Regions from separate parts of the Homo sapiens genome. Here all the other regions are linked to region 2. The links are contacts of gene promoters, found by promoter capture Hi-C in human tissues and cell types (Jung and others, 2019). All regions are on one chromosome and are shown on one strand. Each heading gives the region's core, a stretch centred on a gene start or on the middle of the fragment in contact. The rest is flanking DNA. Distances are from core to core; before and after follow the strand shown. Region 1 has its middle 52 kb from the start of CPN1. Region 2 holds the start of CPN1 (carboxypeptidase N subunit 1). Region 3 has its middle 34 kb from the start of CPN1.

Region 1 (2,700 bases), core at 200-2,699, 52 kb after region 2:
TTACCAGGAAAGGTTTCAACAACTTGATTAGTTAGACATATATTCCAGGAATATGCAGCACTATGTTATAGCTATTTAAAGATGTCAGAAAGCAGGGCAGGCATGGTGGCTCATGCCTGTAATTCCTGCACTTTGGGAGGCCAAGGCAGCAGGATTGCTTGAGCTCTGGAGTTCAAGAGCAGCCTGGGCAACATAGTAAGACCCCATTTCTACAAAAATTACAAAAATTAGCCAGGTGTGGTGGCACTTGCCTTTAGTCCCAGCTACTCGGGAGGCTGAGGCAGGAGGATTGCTTGAGCCCAGGACTGTGAAACCAGCCTGGTCAATATAGCAAGACCCTGTCTCTTAAATAAATAAATAAATAAATAAATAAATAAATAAATAAATAACAAAAAAAAATTAAAGATCTCAGAAAGCTATTTAGTATTTTAGCAGTTATTCCATTTACTAAGGTATTACTTATTGAATTGTTTCCCCCCCAAAAAAATGTTGGCGCCCTAACCCCCAATATCTGTGAATGTGAACTTATTTGGAAACAGGATCTTTACAGAGGTCAGGTTGAAATGAGGTCACAGGTGGGCCCTAAGCCAATATGACCGTCCTTATAAAAAGGGGACATTTGGGCACAGAGACAGACATGCACACGGGGAGAATGTCACATTAACATGAAGGCAGAGCTCAGGGTGATGCACCTACAAGCCAAGGAACTCCAAAAATTGCCAGAAAGCCACCAGCAGCTAAGGCAGAGGTACGGAACAGATTCTCCCTCACAGGTCTCAGAAGGAACCAACCCTGCCGACACCTTGATCTCAGACTTCCAGCCTCCCAAGCTGTGAGACAATTAAGTTCTGTTGTTCTCAGCCACCAAATTTTTGGTACTTTGTTATGGCAGCCCTAGGGAACTAATAGAGAAGGAAAACTAAAATATCAATGAATGGCTCTTTTCTCTGTTATTTTCTAAAATAGAAAGGTTAGTGGAAGGAAGAGCTGAATTATCTGTTCCCATTACAGGCTAGTAAGGAGTGGTAACAAGAATTTTAAGGAAAGTTTGGAAACCAATTTTTTCAGAGTTACCCAAACTGCGAGTTTTAGACCAACAATTTTCCCCCTTTTCAGAGCAATCTAGCCCAGTGGCCTCCATCTCCAGTTTTAAAATTAATGTAAAAGGTCATGCATACCCAATATAATCAACTTGTTTTTCAAAAAGGGAGGTTGTAGAAGGAGAGCTTGGTTACTTCTTTTTTTATTTTTCTTTTTTCATAAACTCAGTGGTAAGAATTGGGTGCTTCTTTAGTAAACAAATGTACCTTGATCTTAGGTGAGAGAGACCAAAACTCACTTCTCTTGTAGCACTAAATACACTGCATTGTATTTAACTAATGATTCATAAATATGCTTTGAAAGGATTTAGTTTCTACTTTTCCAGGACTTGCAATTTTATAATTTTAAGTGGTTTAGAGGAGACTTTCAGACTGTCCTAAATTTTTTGTATTGCGTGTTACTTGATACATATAAAGGAATATATGTAACACATCTAAATTTTGAAGCATAATAACAAAAGGAATTATTTGTGAGCCTATTATCCAACTGAAGAACTAAAACATGGCTGGTACCATTGTAGCTCCCTGTGCGTGACACCCCTGATTTGACCCTTCCTCCTCTCCATCCCCCTGGTGCCCAGGCTGTCATTGAAAGCACAGTGATTTTTATGTCTAGTCATTGTCTGCTGTTGTGGCCACAGCAGTGGCCACAGTGCCACTGCATCCTGTGTGTCATGGGAAACTACACCCCAAGCATGACTGCTCCAGCTCCCTCAACCCTGAGACCTCTGGGTAACAACTCTTTATTTCAAAGGTTCTCAGATTGTTTTTATCTCAATTAGATTCACAGCATGAACCTGCAGGACACTTGGGGTCTGTTTCTGATGTTCATCTCAGTGGAGCTACCAGAGCATCTGTTGTCATATAATTAAACAAACAAACAAACAAACAAACAATTATATATGTTTTGTTCATAGTTTGTGGGAGCTTCTAAACCATTGGAATTTCCTGAGTGTTAGAAGTGCCATTGGTAGCCCGGGCGCAGTGGCTCACACCTGTAATCCAAGCACTGTGAGAGGCCAAGGCAGGTGGATCACTTCAGGCCCGGAGTTTGAGACCAGCCTGGCCAACATGGTGAAACCCTGTCTCTACTAAAAATACAAAATTTGCTGGGCATGGTGGCAGATGCCTGTAATCCCAGCTACTTGGGAGGCTGAGGCAGGAGAATCACTTGAACCTGGGAGGTGGAGGTTGCAGTGAGCGAGACTCCATCTCAAAAAAAAAAAAGTGTCTTTGGAACATAGCGGATCCCTGGGATCACACCTGAGTATGTGCCAATGAGATGATTCAGGTGGGCTCTAGGATAGTTTTAAGATGGGGGCCAGCCATGCCAGAAAGACCAGCCATATGTTTAGAGGGTTGGGGCTTTGAGCCAAGTGATATCAGCCTGAACTCTCAACCTCCATGGAGGAGAGGAGGCTGGAGACTGAGTTCATGAGTTCAATGACACGGCCAATGATTCGATCAATCATGCCCATGTAATGAGACCCTACTAAAAACTCTGGACACTGAGGCTCAGGTGAGCTTCCTGGCTACTGAACACATTGGTGTGCCAGGGGGGTAACACATTATGTTTGAGAGCCTCCCAGACCTCACCTTA
Region 2 (2,700 bases), core at 134-2,633:
CATCAATACATTAACAGTGGTGGGATTTGGGGTGAGTTTTATTATTTTTTTTCCTTATCTAATCTCTAAATTTTAATCCAAACATGGATTGCTTTTACAGTAGAAACAAACTAAAAAAAGGAATCCAGGCTAAGTGCGGTGGCTCACGCCTGTAATCCCAACACTGGGAGGCCAAGGTGGGTGGATCGCCTGAGCCCAGGAGTTTGAGATTAGCCTGGTTAACATGATGAAACCCTGTCTCTACTAAAAATACAAAAATTAGCCGGGCGTATTGGTGCATGCCTGTGGTCCCAGCTACCTAGGAGGCTGAGGGGAAAGGATCACCTGAGCCCAGGAGGTGGAGGCTGCAGTGAGCTGAGATCATGCCACTGCATTCCAGCCTGGGCAACAGAGCCAGACCCCGTCTCAAAAAAATAAAAAATAAAAAAGAATCCAGTAAATAAAACTGACACCCAAGTCCCCAAACTCTCTCTGGAATACCACACTGTCACTCCCCGAAGAGATTCCCCTATACCCTTCTAAGTTTCCTGGCAGAACTAGAAGGGCTCATTGTTTTTGCCTATGTCTCCTGAGCCATTGGGTGGGGAAAGACAGAACAATAGTAAGGGGAAAAGAAAGGAAATGGGGGAAATGAAGGGATATGGGACATGAGCAGGGAAGAAGACTCATCTTTTACCATTAAAGTTTTGAGCAAACAGAACCCAAAAAGGAGGAAAGATCTGAAGGCTGAAGGAGGGTTATAGCTCCCCAGAGGCAGTGGCAGTTTGAGGGCTAAGAGGGAAATAGCACAGGCTGAGAAAGAGATAATACCTTGTAGGCGGAGGCGTCCACGGACCACCCCAGAAACCACTCCAATTACTGGATTTGCAAGGGAAAGGCCCTGCCCCACACACCCTCAAGAGCTGTTCAGAACTTACAGGGCTCGTGGATTCCAGGGTGGTCGCTGAACTCCAGCACGTAGAGGTGTCTCCCCTCCACGCTGCGCCCAATGCTGTAGACCCGCGTGATGCCGGGGCATTCGTTTTGCACCTTGTACAGCGTCCGCACAAGATCATCATAGCGGTGGTGGCGAAAGGTCACCGGGGCAACCAACTTGAAGAGAAGGAGGAGGTGGAGGAAGACTGAGAGCAGGTCTGACATCTTGCTGGGCTTTTTCAAAGAGAGCCACTGAAACGCGCCCCACCTCCTTAAACAACCTAGCCTCTTCACCCGCCAAAATCCAAGGTCCACCTAGCTTCCCGCTTGTAAACACCAGTCCAAATTGGAAGACGTTCCCAGCTGTCCGTCCAAGGCTGGAAATTCTTTATGTCGTTCTGGAATAGCCACTCATCTCTCCTCCCTCACTCCCTTTCTTTCTCTAATCCAGGAAAGCCTTTTGAAAGGTTTTTTGCACTTCCCCAGATGGGTAGTTTCACTGATTCTGGTTTACTGGTTAACTGGACTGTAAACAGGCTTCAATAAATAGCTGCTTATAACCCTTTGATTCCTGGAGAATTTTTTAAAACTTGGCCTGTGCCTGTTCCTTTTATTACAACTTTCAAAAAGAGTTCTCTGTCCCTTTTGATCCATCCCACGTACTGCTGCCTGCCTATCTTTCTGAAGCATGGCTGTATTTTGTCCTTTTTTTCCTCAAAAATCTTTCAACAGATGCCATTAAGAAAAGGAAAAGATTAGCCTCGGACTGGGAGAAAACAATTGTAAATCATGTATCCGATAATACCCCCATAATACGTAAAGAATCCTTACAATACAATAAGAAAACAAACAACCCAATTAAAACATGGGCAAAACATTTGACCAAAATAGATATACAAATGGCTAATAAGCACATTTAAAGATGTTCAGTGTCATTAGTCATTAAGGAAATACAAATTAAAACCACATGAGATCCAGTCATGGTGGCTCATGCCTATAATCTCAGCACTTTGGGAGGCCAAATTGGGAGGATCACTTGAGCCCAGGAGTTTGAGATCAGCCTGGGCAACATAGCAAGACCCCACCTCTACAAATATTTTTAAAATTAGCTGGGTGTGATGGCATGCCTGTAGTTCCAGCTACTAGGGAGGCTGAGGCAGAGAATCACTTGAACCTGGGTGGTGGGGCCTGAAGTGAGCCATGATCATGCCACTACACTCCAGCCTGGGCAACAGAGTGAGACCTCATCTCAAAAAACAAACAAACAAAAATCACACATGAAATATACTTTACCTCCACTAGAATGGCTACAATAAAAAAGACAGACAATAACAAATGTTGGTGAGAATAGGGAGAAACTGGAACCCTCATAAATAGTGCAGCCAGACCAGGTGCAGTGGCTCATGCCTGTAGCCCAGGACTTTGAGAGGCCGAGGCAGGTGGATCACGAGGTCAAGAGATCGAGATCATCCTGGCAAACATGGCAAAACCCCCTCTCTACTAAAAATACAAAAATTAGCTGGGCATGGTGGCACACGCCTGTAGTCCCAGCTACTCAGGAGTCTGAGGCAGGAGAATTGCTTGAACCTGAGAGGAGGAGGTTGCAGTGAGCTGAGATCACGCCACTGCACTCCAGCTTGGTGACAGAGCGAGACTCCATCTCAAAAAAAATAAAAAATAAAGATAAACAAATAAATAGTACAGCCAGTTTGGAAAACAGTTTAGCAGTTTCTTACAAGGTTAAATATATACTTACTATATAATACAACAGTTTCACTCCTAGGT
Region 3 (2,700 bases), core at 174-2,673, 34 kb after region 2:
AGGAAAAAATAGAGCTGAAAAAGCTGGTGCCATTTTTAAAAAAAGGAAGAAATGAGATTTAACTGGTGCTCAAAGCTTCTGATACAAAATATGTGGTCATGTATTCATAATTTGCTTGACATTTCCAGCAAAACAAAGATGGCAATAACAAAAGAAACTTCTTACAAGAGAAGAGAAAGACACTCGGAGCTCCGGAGTTTCTGCTGGAACAAGGCTCTTCCGTTTTGGTTATATACAGTCAAGTTCATTTAGTGCCTGATCCAGTGTCTGATATAAGCCCGCGCTCTCTTCTTTGGCCTGGGCAAATTTCTCTTCCAGGTCATCAGTTGTCTTTTCCAGTTTTGCAACCATTATCTCTACAAATTCAGCACGGATCTCAGCCTCCTTCAGTTGTCAGACAGAAGTTTAATTTTTTCTTCGTATTTGTCCTCCTTGTCAGAATACTTTCCAATGCAGCCTCCGGCGGTTTCAGATTGTTAGTGACATTCTTGAGTTCTTCTGCCAGGTCACCACATTTTAGTTCAGACACCTCTGCACGCTCCTCTGCTCTGGCCAGTTCGCCCTCTGTGATGGCCAGTTTCCGAGCTACCTCCTCTTATTTGCGGTCAGCCTCCGGCCGCAGTGTGCTTGGCCTCTTTGAGCTGCATCTCCCGAATCCATCTTCTCCTCATCCCTCATAGCCCGGTTTTCTATCACCTTCATTCTCTCTCACGCTCATCTGCAGCCTTTTCCCCCCTCCTCTAGCTTCTGCAGGGCCGTGACCAGTCGTTCCCGAGCCCCGTCCAACTCCTCCTTAAAGAGCTGGATGCACATGTACCCTAAAACTTAAAGTATAATAATAATAATAAAAAAAGAAAAAAAAAAAAAAAAAGAGCTGGATGCGTCAGTCGAGGACAGCCACATCGCCTTCAGCTTTCTCGCGCCGCTCGCTCGCGCCCCCCGCTCGCGCCCCCAGTCCAGCTGCCGCTGCAGGCCCTGCGCGCAGTCTTCGCCTTGTCCGCCTGCTGCGGCAGGGCCTGAATCTTGCGTTTCACCGCCTGCGGCGGGCGCCCCGGACCCGGCCGGGTTCGGACGACAGCTGCACGGCCGCGCCTCGGCCCCTGAACTTTTGCCTGCACCGGGGCCGCCCCGCACCCCCCGCCAACCCCCAGCCCCGGCCCGGCTGCCGTCGGGGCGATGAGGTCACCCGCCCTTGCACGATATCTGTTGATTTGGGGATTTGTTCCTACTGACTATAGGAGTCAATTTTCTTGGGTTTTTCAGGCACGATGATAGCAACTAAAGTTTTTGCTTCCATCTTTTAAATGTTTTATTTCTTGTTACTTTTTTCTGATTCCAGTTGAACTATACTGTAATGGTAAATAGCCTTGTTATTTATTTATTTATTTATTTATTTATTTATTTATTTATTTTATTTTATTTTTTTACGACACGGGGTTTCACTCTGTCGCCCAGGCTGGAGTGCAAGTGGTGCCATCTTGGCTCACTGCAACCTTCACCTCCTGGGCTCAAGCGATCCTCCTACCTCAGTCTCCTGAGTAGCTGGGACTATAGGCGCGGGCCACCAAGCCCGGCTAAATTTTTTTTTTTTTTTTTTTTTTTTGGGATTTTTAGTGGAGACAGGGTTTCGCCATGTTGGCCAGGCTGTCTAAAACTCCTGACCTTAGGTGATCCGCCTGCCACCGCCTCCCGAAGTGCTGGGATTACAGGTGTAAGCCAGCCTCATCTTATTCTCAATATTAATGAGAATGTTTCCAGTCTTTCACCAAAAAGCACAATTTGGGAGATGTGTTTTCATTGACTTAAGAGAAATTCATCTATTTCTATTTTACTAAGGGTTAGAAAAATCAAGAATGGATGTCAAATATTCTTAAAAGCATTTTCTGTACAAATGAGATTATCATGTAATGTCAAAATTGTATTTGTACAATTTTGCATAATCTGTATTTATGTAATTTTGTATAAATTGTATTTATACAAAATTGTATTTATATGGTCAGTTTTCTTAAGATGGATTTCCTGGTATTGCACCACTGCTATGTTCCTGATTCCTGTGTTAGTGGTGTAGTTTTTTCTTTTTTTTTTGAAACGGAGTCTTGCTCTGTCGCCCAGGATCTTGGCTCACAGCAACTGCCGCCTCCCGGGTTCAAGCGATTCTCCTGCCTCAGCCTTCCAACTAGCTGAGATTATAGGCATGTGCCACCATGTCCTGCTAATTTTTGTATTTTTAGTAGAGGAGGGGTTTCACCATGTTGGCCAGGCCGGTCTCGAATACCTGACCTTAGGTGATCCACCTGCCTCGGCTTCCCAAAGTGCTGGGATTACAGGCGTGAGCCACCGTGCCCAGCCAGTGGTATAGCATTTTTAATATGATGCCAGACCTATGCATCAATAGACTTTTGCATTGATATTTGTAAGTGAGACTGGCGGCTGTTTCTGTTTGCAGTATTTTGGTCAGGTTTGGCATCTTTTCTTCCTCCTCTATGCTTTGGAACTGTTTAAATGTAAAGCCCAAACCCTTAATCACTATGTAAGACTGACTACATCCCCAGTGTGCATGTAAACATTTTGGTAAATTCTATGTGCTTTACAAATGTTAACTGTCAGAGGCAGCAATATCCCAAATGTCGGAGTACAAGTGATCCTGAGAGGAGAGTATTAAGATTAAAGGAGGTGAGAGTTGCCTTGATTACCCTAGAG

Evidence for each region. Contacts are between HindIII fragments. The study calls those that stand out against the background at their distance.
Region 1: a fragment that was not itself captured here is called in contact with the fragment with the promoter of CPN1 in region 2 in 2 of the 25 tissues and cell types used here (IMR-90 fibroblasts and mesenchymal stem cells).
Region 3: a fragment that was not itself captured here is called in contact with the fragment with the promoter of CPN1 in region 2 in 1 of the 25 tissues and cell types used here (stomach).

Annotation. Positions count from the first base shown.
Region 1 is chr10:100,132,257-100,134,956 of GRCh38, forward strand. It overlaps the pseudogene CYP2C23P. Among named protein-coding and RNA genes, the nearest start is that of CPN1, 52 kb to the left of the region's middle. The HindIII fragment of the contact is 4,461 bases long and covers 1-2,700 here.
Region 2 is chr10:100,080,486-100,083,185 of GRCh38, forward strand. CPN1 (carboxypeptidase N subunit 1) reads right to left here and starts at 1,384. Exons shown (of 9, transcript NM_001308.3): 1 at 918-1,384. The coding sequence starts at 1,140. The HindIII fragment of the contact is 9,232 bases long and covers 1-2,700 here.
Region 3 is chr10:100,114,184-100,116,883 of GRCh38, forward strand. It overlaps the pseudogene CYP2C23P and the pseudogene TPM4P1. Among named protein-coding and RNA genes, the nearest start is that of CPN1, 34 kb to the left of the region's middle. The HindIII fragment of the contact is 7,748 bases long and covers 1-2,700 here.